Linked DNA regions of Homo sapiens: all the other regions are linked to region 1. Evidence: promoter capture Hi-C in 16 types of primary human blood cells and fetal thymus (Javierre and others, 2016). All regions are on one chromosome and are shown on one strand. The core of a region is centred on a gene start or on the middle of the fragment in contact, and the rest is flanking DNA. Distances in the headings are between cores, read along the strand shown. Region 1 holds the start of ZNRF4 (zinc and ring finger 4). Region 2 overlaps PTPRS (protein tyrosine phosphatase receptor type S). Region 3 overlaps PTPRS (protein tyrosine phosphatase receptor type S).

The links. Contacts are between HindIII fragments. The CHiCAGO score rates a contact against its expected background, and 5 or more counts as called.
Region 2: a contact is called between a fragment that was not itself captured here and the fragment with the promoter of ZNRF4 in region 1, in 1 of 17 cell types (M1 macrophages). The highest score is 5.4, in M1 macrophages.
Region 3: a fragment that was not itself captured here is called in contact with the fragment with the promoter of ZNRF4 in region 1 in 5 of 17 cell types (M1 macrophages, activated CD4 T cells, total CD8 T cells and 2 more); the score reaches 5.3 in M1 macrophages.

Annotation. Positions count from the first base shown.
Region 1 is chr19:5,453,406-5,457,015 of GRCh38, forward strand. It overlaps ZNRF4 (zinc and ring finger 4), which reads left to right and starts at 2,012. Exons shown (of 1, transcript NM_181710.4): 1 at 2,012-3,451. The coding sequence starts at 2,087. The coding sequence ends at 3,376. The HindIII fragment of the contact is 7,810 bases long and covers 1,875-3,610 here.
Region 2 is chr19:5,209,298-5,212,907 of GRCh38, forward strand. It overlaps PTPRS (protein tyrosine phosphatase receptor type S), which reads right to left. Exons shown (of 38, transcript NM_002850.4): 31 at 3,040-3,194; 32 at 2,668-2,953; 33 at 2,293-2,471; 34 at 1,382-1,508; 35 at 1,172-1,297. Among named protein-coding and RNA genes, the nearest start is that of PTPRS-AS1, 33 kb to the left of the region's middle. The HindIII fragment of the contact is 5,344 bases long and covers 1-3,610 here.
Region 3 is chr19:5,233,120-5,236,729 of GRCh38, forward strand. The region is part of intron 13 of PTPRS (protein tyrosine phosphatase receptor type S); the gene reads right to left. Among named protein-coding and RNA genes, the nearest start is that of PTPRS-AS1, 57 kb to the left of the region's middle. The HindIII fragment of the contact is 1,424 bases long and covers 1,117-2,540 here.

The DNA of each region.
Region 1 (3,610 bases), core at 762-3,261:
CTACATTTGTCCCTCTCTGCTTCTGTTTTTCCACTCTTGCCTCCTCTCATGCCTGCTGGACTGAAAAACCTGCCTCTGCTTGGTAGCACTGGGCTGCAAGGGCCATCCACAGTGGCCAAGGCAGTGGCCTCTAGATAGTGTGGCCTCCGTCTGTGGCAGTAGACAGAGCAGGGGCAGGAGTGCCACCAGGGGCCGGGCATGGTGGCTCACAAATGTAACCCCAGCACTTTGGGAGGCTGAGACTGGCAGATCACTTGAGGTCAGGAGTTCGAGACAAGCCTGGGCAACCTAGCAAAACCCCCGTTTCTATTAAGATACAAAAATTAGCCGGGCATGGCAGCATGTGCTCGTGGCCTCAACTGATCTGCCCGCCTCGGGCTCCTAAAGTGCTAGGATTACGGACATGAGCCACCATGCCCGGCCTTTTCTCCCTTTCTTAGAAGGAAAACCTCTGCAAAGATCTTATTTCCAAATAAGGTCCATTCACAGGGGTTGGTCAGAACCAGGGGTTAGGGGTTCAACATCTCTATTTGGGGCCCACCCACTACATGGTACAAGAGATTTGTGTGGGAGGTGATCTCAGAAGCTGTGGGAGGGGAGAGAAGTGGGTGGGGAAGGGAAGGAGACAGTAGCGGGCTCATTGACAAGACAGTACTGGGTTCGTTGACTTATGGAGCTCATTCGACTGGGGACCTCTAGGAGATATGGTAGAACATACTTCGATTTGTCCCATAAGAGGGACGAGGGAGTGGGGGCATTTATCTACCACCTCCCATCTGTCACTGGCTGAGGGCTGCTCTGAGAGGTATTAGGCCAACACAGAAAATCTAAAGACTAAGTAGTCAGCCTGGCAAAGTGAAGTTGAGGAGCAAGAATTCTGTTCCAGGCAGAGGGAACAGCATTTGCAAAATTCTAGAGGTGAACAAAGCAAGATGCCTCTGGGACATTGCAAATCATCCAGGCTTCAGAGATTGGCAGGCGCCCAACCACAGGGGTGCATGTAGGCCACAGAGAAGAGTGTGGGCTTTATCTGGAGGGCAATGGGGAGCCATGGGAGAGTTTAGAGCATGGGAAAGACTATGTTACAGGTCTGGAAGCTGAGGCCCAGAGAGGCTAAGGAATTTAGCTGATGTCATACAGCTTATGAATGGCAGAGACAGAAATCCGACTTGAGTGGGCTGCAGACAGATTGAGGGTGTGAAATTTGGGGGATGGGGACTGGGGAGGAGGTGAGGCTGATGCCCAGGGCTGAAGCTCAGGCAGGGGGCACAGTTGGAGACCCAGCTGGAGAGGCAATGCTATAGGGAGAGAGAATGAAGCTGGTGCAAGCCTGGAGGCCAACCTGGCGGTGCGGACTTGGGACCACTGACCCCCACCAGCCCCACCCTGACCCTGGCACTTGACTCTCCCTCCAAATCAAGTCCAGGAGGGCTCTGAGGATATATGGACTCAGACCTGAGTCCGGATAAAAGAGCCAGCTACGGAGAGAAAGGGCTTTCCAGGCAGGAGGCCCAGCCCATGCAAAGGCCCTGGGGCAGGATCCTGCCTGGTGTGTTGGAGGAACAGCAAGGAGATCTGTGTGGCTGGAGCAGAGTGAGGGATGGTGACAGGGGGTCAGGAATTTGGGTTTTAAGCACTGATCTCATTGTAGGGGGGCGTGGCTTGAACAAGTCTGGGTCACTCTTGGAGTCTCAGACAAGGGTAACATTGAACCTTCTACAGTGTGTTGCTAGGAACCTCCAGAAGCTGATGCTGGTAGCGTCTTCGCACAGTGAGGGCTGAATCTGCACTGCTGGGGGCCGGCAGCCCTTTTGAAGCATCCCTGGGCCTCCTTGGGTCCAAAGATACCCTGAGCCTTCAAGAAGTTATCTCAAAGCTTGCCCGGGTACCGGCAAATCACAGACCTAGGAATGATCCATTGGCCACAGGCCCAGGCAGCTGGCAGCTCCTGGGACAGAATGTAGCAGGGCGATGTCACAGAAGCTGGGGGCATCTAGAACCCTGGTGACTCCTGGTCTCCATGTCATCTGCCAGAAAGGCCACCTGCGCCAGCACCTCCTGAGACCGGCCTTCAAAGACACGACGCATGCCGCTCTGCCGTCCGGAGCACTTAATGCCTAGAGCCAGCAGGGTCCCAGTGGCCGCGTCACTGCCTCTGAGCCACGCGGTCATTCCAACTCAACTGCCCTCGCGTCCTGGCCACAGGCCCCCTGGGAGACCCCGGAGATGCCCAAAGGCCTCATGCCTGCCGCCTCCAGTGGGACCTAGCAGCACACAGACAGCGAAGCGGGTGACCATGGGGTGGCCACGGCCGGGCCGAGCCCTCGTGGCAGTCAAAGCCTTGCTGGTCTTGTCGCTGCTCCAGGTGCCCGCGCAGGCAGTGGTACGGGCCGTGCTGGAAGACAACTCGAGCTCGGTGGACTTTGCGGATCTGCCGGCGCTGTTCGGCGTCCCCCTGGCCCCCGAGGGCATACGGGGCTACCTGATGGAGGTCAAGCCAGCCAACGCGTGCCATCCCATCGAGGCCCCGCGACTGGGCAACCGCTCTCTGGGCGCCATCGTGCTGATCCGCCGCTACGACTGCACCTTCGACCTCAAGGTGCTGAACGCCCAGCGCGCCGGCTTCGAGGCGGCCATCGTGCACAACGTCCACTCCGACGACCTCGTGAGCATGACCCACGTCTACGAGGACTTGAGGGGCCAGATCGCCATCCCCTCAGTGTTCGTGAGCGAGGCCGCCTCGCAGGACCTGCGGGTCATCCTGGGCTGCAACAAGTCGGCCCACGCGCTGCTCCTGCCCGACGACCCACCGTGCCACGACCTGGGCTGTCACCCCGTGCTGACCGTGTCCTGGGTGCTGGGCTGTACCCTGGCCCTGGTCGTATCAGCCTTCTTTGTCCTGAACCACCTGTGGCTCTGGGCCCAGGCCTGCTGCAGCCACAGACGGCCGGTGAAGACGTCTACCTGCCAGAAGGCCCAGGTCCGCACCTTCACGTGGCACAACGACCTGTGTGCCATCTGCCTGGATGAGTATGAGGAGGGCGACCAACTCAAGATCCTGCCCTGCTCCCACACCTACCACTGCAAATGCATTGACCCCTGGTTCTCCCAAGCCCCCCGGCGCTCCTGCCCCGTGTGCAAACAGTCGGTGGCCGCCACAGAAGACAGCTTTGACTCCACCACCTACAGCTTCAGGGACGAGGACCCCTCCCTACCGGGCCACCGGCCCCCCATCTGGGCCATTCAAGTCCAGCTACGCTCCCGGAGGCTGGAGCTGCTGGGCCGCGCCAGTCCCCACTGCCACTGCAGCACCACGTCCCTGGAGGCAGAGTATACCACTGTCTCCTCAGCCCCTCCTGAGGCCCCTGGTCAGTAAAGATCTAGGGCAGGGAGGGGGGTGCAATGAGGAATGTTTCTGGTCTGAAAAGAATAAAGTGGGTTTGAAAGCGGATTCTCAGCCTCGCTGCTGTTGGGCCACCCGCCTCTGACTGGGGTTGGGGGACACCCATCCCCATCAAGCCTAAGGCCAATCCCCGTTTCTGCGGGCGGGAGAGCGAGGGGTGGTGAGGGCTGGGGGGCCTTTTTGGGGCGGCTGTGACCGTGGTGCCGG
Region 2 (3,610 bases), core at 289-2,788, 240 kb before region 1:
AACTCAATGGTGCCATTTTCCACCATCCATCACTAACAATTCATCACTCTCCACCATCCAAGGGTACCATCTTCCACTGACATTCTCCATTCCCCATCATCTGCCTTGTTCTAATCCCATCCTCCACCATCAAAATGGTGCCATCCAAAATTGTTATCCTCTGCCACCATTTGCCATCCAATGTACCATCTTTCCCTGATGTTTTACATTTTCTAAAATCTCCTTTCCCAACCCCATCTTCCTCAATCTTGTACCACCCATTGGTTTATACCATTGACTATTGTTTACTGTCCTTTCTTAGTCCTAGTATTTCCCATTGATTTTCTCCACCCCCTGCTGGCCAAACATTTGCCCTTCTCCAATTCTGTCTTCCTCCATCCATCACTGATAAAGCATCACCCTTCACTGACCCAAACTACCACATTCCACTGACATTCTCCATCCTGTTATGCGAATGTTCTTCTCTCCAATTCCAGATTCCACCCCTCCAAGGGCACCATCTTGCACTGCTCACAGCACAATGCCCGGTGATTGCTGTTCATTCAGCAGCCTTCACCATCCTTTGGCATCATCTTGGCCAACATTCCCCATCCTCTATCATCCCCTCACTGCGTTCTCTACCATCGTCGATCTTCCACCACTAACTTTGATCCTTTGTCACCCAACAGGGCCACCTTCCACTATGAGTCTTCATCTGTTGCCACCTAATACCTGGCCTTTCTCCCTCCACCTGACACTGCAGTCCTTCATTGAGCCAACACCATCCATACTCATCTCTCCTCACCCAACGGTGCCAGTCCCCACCATCTGACTCTCCTTGTCCACCGTCTACCACCCCTCACCCTCAATCCCTCAAGTCCCTTTCAGCCCTTTAACATCATCCTCCACAGGTGGCTGCTTCCAGAGGAAAGCCCCATTCACTTCCTTGAATATCATCCCCTGGGGCCATGTTCCCTAGTGAGTGGAGACACTGCAGGGTCAGCACAGAGATAAGACCCTCTCTTCCACCTATGTGGCAGTAGAAGCAAGTGGCCAACTGGTCAGCTGACACTTCTCCTGATTCCCAATGCTTATGCCTAACCCTTGGCCTTTGTATCCATCACCAACCAGGGCAGCCCTTTCCAGATCACTAAGGCTCCAGCCCCTCCCGCCAGTCTGTCTCTTCACTCACCCGGGCATCTGTGACCTTGAACTCTCGCAGGATATACTGAGGCATGTTGTATTCTGCCATCGGATCTACCACAAAGTACTGGTAGCGGGCAGAGCGCTCGGCCGGCCAGTACTGGTGACACTTCTCCTGTGGAGGAGATGGCGGCCGTGGTCAGCGCTGTCTGAGCCACAGTCTGGCCCTCGCCCTTCCCTGCTGTGGCCCCTAGCTCACCCGGCCCATCTCCCGCAGCTTGGTCAGCATCACCACGATCGTCGAATTGTTCTCCCACAGCATGCGCCAGAAGTCTTCCGTGGTCTCCGCCAGCGGCCCCTGTGTCGCGATGTAGGCCTTCTGCTGCCTGCAGGCGTTGGGGGTATGAGCCCAGGGCCGGCAGGGAGACCCGGCGTGGTACTCACCTGATGCTGCCCGGGAGGGTCAGGACCAAGCCAGTGACAGCTACACCTACCACCCCACTGCCTGCCAGGAATGGCTGCTGGGTGCACCACTTCCCCTCCTGGTGATCCCATTTTGCATGTGGGGAAACCACCAGTCTCATGACAAATTCAAATCCCTTGACAAAGCTGCGGGACTATCCACTAACCTCTCCTGATTTCTTCCCTCCATCTCCTTCAAGGGCCACTGCCCTACTTTCAGTTGCTTGCGTGGGCCAAGCTCTCAGCCCCGGGCCTTTGCACATGTGGCACCCTCTGCCAGGAACACCCTCCCCTCCTTTGCCAGGATTTCTCAATCTCAGTGCTATTGACATTTGGCGCTGGATTGTTCTCTGAGACAAGCTGTTCTGTGTACTGTAGGATGCTGAGCAGCATGCCTGGTCCCCACCCAGGCAGTACCAGTAGTACTCATGAAAATAAGAAATATCCTCAGGGTGTCAGAATTACCCCAATTGAGAACCACTGATAGAACAGATGGAATCACATTATGGACAGCAGCCATCAGTTAAACACACACCCAAAGATTCACGGACAGCAGCCATCAGTTAAATATACATCTAAAGATGTGTATTTAAACAGCTCAGGGCTACCAGTATCTCCCCAGCTCTGTCTCCCACAAGACTGGAGGCCTCTTGAGAGTAGAGATGGGCTCCTTCTGGGGCCCTGAGGTGGGAAAGGCATGGCACCTACCTGTAGCCATCAATGAAGCTGGCGTTGATGTAGTCAGAGCCCTCCACACCCCGGATGGGTTGCAGACAGACCCGTGTGCTCTCATAGGGCATGATGTTCACCAGGCGGTTCTTGAACTTGTTACAAGGCAGATTGGCACTGATGAAGCGTGACGTGTGGGCCTTGGAGTTAGCCAGCCGCTGTGGGGAGGAGGAAGCCAGAGGCCACCATCAGGATGAGGAAGGCTATGCTTTCAGCTGGAGCACCAATGGTGGATAGGTAGGTAGGGGCACCCTGCCACCACCTTCTAGTCCCCATTGCTCGAGGCGGGCCTGATTTTCGGCTCTTTGGGCCTCCTCCCCACCCCGCCCACAGCAGCCTCCACCCCGCTGGCACCTTGAACTCGAGTTCCATGCCAGTGACGTGTTCGCCAGGCTCCACCTGGGCCAGCTTCTGGATGTAGGCATAGAGGCTGCGTGCGGGCACTTCTGTGTTGCCACAGCCCACGGCCTCCAGCAGGGCCTCGTGGATGAAGCTGTACTGGTCCTCCGTCTGCACCATGTAGTTGCGCTGGGACCTCATGAGCGTCACGTGGCCATAGACATCGACTGTCTTCTCTGGCTTGATCCGCTCAAGCATGGCGTCGATGACGATAAAGCAGCCTGTGCGGCCCACACCGGCACTGCAGGGACAGCCACGTGGCGTTCAGGGGCTGCTGGGCTGCGGGGACCGGGGGGAAGCGGATGGGGCAGAGTGGGGTGGACGTACCTGCAGTGAACCACGATGGGGCCGGCATCTGGCGGGTTGCAGGTCTTGACTCTCCGCAGGAAAGCCAGGAAGGGCGTTGGGTATTCGGGCACGCCATGGTCCGGCCACGCCGTAAACTGGAACTGGCGGACCTCGCGTTTCTCACTGGAGCCATTCTGGGGACCACAAGGATGTCACCTGTCACTCCGGCTCAACCTGCCACCCATGTGCTGAAGATGCCCAAGTGGCCGGGTGTGGTGGCTCATGCCTGTTATCCCAGCACTTTGGGAGGCCGAGGTGGGCGGATCACCTGAGGTCAGGAGTTCGAGACCAGCCTGACCAACATGGAGAAACCTCGTCTCAACTAAAAATACAAAATTAGCTAGGCATGGTGGTGCATGCCTGTAATCTCAGCTACTTGGGAGGCTGAGGCAGGAGAATTGCTTGAACCTGGGAGGTGGAGATTGCAGTGAGCTGAGATGGCGCCACTGTACTCCAGCCTGGGTGACAGAGTGAAACTCCATCTCAAAAAAAAAAACACCCATGTCTGCGCCTCCCAGTCACCATGTCCCCAAGTGCCTGACTTGGGCTC
Region 3 (3,610 bases), core at 579-3,078, 220 kb before region 1:
TCAGGCACCTACTACGTGTCAAGCATTGTGCTAAGGCTTCATAGAATGGTAACAAAATAATCTATGTCGAACACCTATGTGCCAGGCACCGTGGCAAGGGGAACAGCAACAGAGCTCTATTAGACACCTACTATGTGCCAGCGCCAAGCACTTCACGAAATAATAGTAAAAGCATCTATTTATTGAACACCTACTATGTGCCAGGTACCATGCCAAGGGGAATGGCAATAGAAGCTCCATTAAGCACCTACTACGTGCCAGGTACCATGCCAAAGGGAACAGCAACAGAAGCTCCATTTATTAACTACCTACTATGTGCCAGGCACTGTGCCAAGGGGAATGGCAACAGAAGCTCCATTAGGCACCTACTATGTGCCAGCACCAAGGGCTTCACAAAATAATAGAGCATCTATTTACTGAATATCTAGTATGTGCCACGCATCATGCTAAGGGGAACAGCAATAGAAGCTCCACTTATCAGGTACCTACTGTGTGTCAAGCATTGTGCCAAGGGCTTCATAGAATAATAGCATAAGAATCTCGGCCGGGCGCAGTGGCTCACTCCTGTAATCCCAGCACTTTGGGAGGCCGAGGTGGGTGGATCACGAGGTCAGGAGTTAGAGAGACCAGCCTAGCCAACATGGTGAAACTCCGTCTCTACTACAAGATACAAAAAACTAGCCGGGCATGGTGGCGGGAGCCTGTAATCCCAGCTACTCGGGAGGCTGAGGCAGGAGAATCACTTGAACCTGGGAGGCGGAAGTTGCAGTGAGCCAAGATCGTGCCACTGTACTCCAGCCTGGGCAACAGGGCAAGACTCCATCTCCAAAAAAAAAAAAAAAAAAAAAAAAAAAAAAATCTATATGTCACACACTATGTGCCAGGCAACAGCAATAGAAGCCCCAATTATTAGCTACCTACCATGTGCCAGGTGTCATGCCAAGGGCTTCATACAATAACAGCAAATGCACTTATTTACTGGCCACCTACTGTAGGTCAGGCATGGTGCCAAGGGCTTCATAATAATTTACGGAAAATATGGTAAAATTTTTCTTGTAGTAAAAGCATTTATTTACTGAACACTTGTGCTACCAGGGACCCAAAGCCCATCCCAAAAGCTTACTTCAACTAGGACCATCCAATTGGCCTCACTTGAAAATAATGCCCATGTCTTGAGCACCTACTGTGTGCCAGATAGAATGTCAAGGGCTTTATCAAGTAATAATAAAAGTGCCTGTTTATTGGACACCTACTGGTGTCAGGTACCAGGCTCAGGACTTCATAGCTCATATTGAGCACCTACTGTGTGCCAAAATCTTTAAAGATCACAGCACTTCTGTGTTCAGTCCCAACTATGCACCTGGCACCACACTACATCTACTACTAACCTATCAACAGCAAGTCTCATTTATTGAACATCTACTATGGACTGGGTACGGTAACAGGTCTCTGAAGAGAAAAACAGCAGTTGTCATTTAAGCAGCACCTACTATGTGCCAGGCACTGTGCCAAAGGCTCTCTCAGAAAACAGTAGTAGTCCCTGCATATTAAACCCCTACTGCGTGCCAGGCACTGTGCTAAGGGCTGTATCAGAAAAGTTAATAGTCCCCATGTATTAGGCCCCTACTGTGTGCCAGGCACTGTGTTAAAGGCTTCATCAGAAAACGATAGTAGTCACCACATATTAAGCACCTATTGTGTGCCAGGTGCTGTGCTGGGGCTTACTGAAAAACAGTAAGTTTCCACATATGAAGCACCTACTATGTGTCAGGCAACTCTACTAAGGGCCTTACGGAATGTTAATAGTTTTCATTTCTTTCTTTCTTTTTTTTTTTTTTTTTGAGACAGTCTTGCTCTGTCGCCCAGGCTGGAGTGCAGTGGCGCGATCTCGGCTCACTGCAAGCTCTGCTGCTCGGGTTCACGCCATTCTCCTGTCTCAGCCTCCCGAGTAGCTGGGACTACAGGCGCCCGCCACCACGCTCGGCTAATTTTTTGTATTTTTAGGGGAGACGGATTTTCACCATGTTGGCCAGGATGGTCTCGATCTCCTGACCTCGTGATCCGCCCACCTCGGCCTCCCAAAGTGCTGGGATTACAGGCATGAGCCGCCGCGCCCGGCCAATAGTTTTCATTTCTTAAGCACCTACTGTGTGCCAAGCATCGTGCTAAGGGCTTTATTGGATAACTGTAACAGCACCTGGCACCGTGTGCCAGGCATTGCACTCAATACCTTATATAAAAATAGTAATAGTTCTTATTGAGCACCTACTATTTGCACACACTGTGCCAAGGGCTTTGCAGATAATAAGTGAATGTTTTCAGTAAAAACTGTGTAACCAGCCCTATCCCACACCCTTTCAAACTGATAATGGTGCCCATCTGAGCATCTACTACGTGCCTCACACTTAGGCCACCTCTTTATAGCAAGTGCCACTTATTGAGCACTTACTGTATGTCAGCCATTGTGCCAAGAGGTTTGCAGAACAATAATTGTTGCCACCCATGTTTTGAGTACCTACTGTGCGCCTGGCACTAGGCTAAGCTTGTTATAAACTGCTAATAGCTTCCATTTACTGAGTGCCAACTAGGTGCCCAGCACTGTGCCAATCCATATGTAGATTTAAAACAGTGGCTGTATTAATGGGGCACCTACTGTGTGCCAGGCAGTATGTTAAGGTCTTTGCTGAATAACACTGAGAGTTCCCGCATATTAAAGGGAACTGTCTGTGTGTTAAAGGCTTATGAATCAGTAAGTCTCTATGTGTTGCGTGCCTACTATGGCCAGACGCTGTGCTGAGGGCATTAGTGATAATAAACTTCATTTTCTGCACGCCTACTGCAGGTGCAGCACCCTCAGCCCATGTTTCATGTATTATCTCATTTAACGCATGTATCATCTCATTTAATGCATGCATTATCTCATTTAATTCTCACAACCCCTCAGGTGGTCAGAACTGTCACTCCCCACCCGCCACCCCGCGTCAACGGTGGGGAAACCAGATTCCAAAGTCTGCCTGCTGGGCTTTCTACAGTCACTGGTTGTGTACCGACTGTGGCCAGACCCCACCCTGGAAGCTTTTCATTATTTTGTATAACACCTCTCAATCTTGCCGAAAAACCAGAAGTGCAGCCCATTTTACAGGTGAGCCCATTTTACAGGTGAGGAAACTGAGGCTCAGAAACAGCAAGCTACCTGTCCAGGGGCATGCAGTGATGAGGTGGCAGAGCCAGGATTGGAACCCAGACTTGGCCGTGATTCACAGGCTGGCTTGGTTTGAGGTTGGCAGCTCAGATCTCAGCCTTGTGCTGGTTGGGTATGGCGGAAGCCACTCTCCCAAGTGCCCACGATTTTAGAATCTACGTCCCCTGGAGGGAGGCCCAGAGAGATTACTGGCCTTGCTCGTGGCAAGAGCATTAGAAACCCTCACCATCAGAGCAGCTTGCTTGGTGGCTGAGCACATGTTTACTGAGTACTTACTATGGACACTATCCTGCTAGCATCTGAAACCCAGAGACGAATCCTGTCCTCAGAGACACTGGGCTACCAGAGACTGCAGAGGCCACCCCAACAGCTTACTTCAACTAGAGAGACCCTCCGGCCTCACTTAAA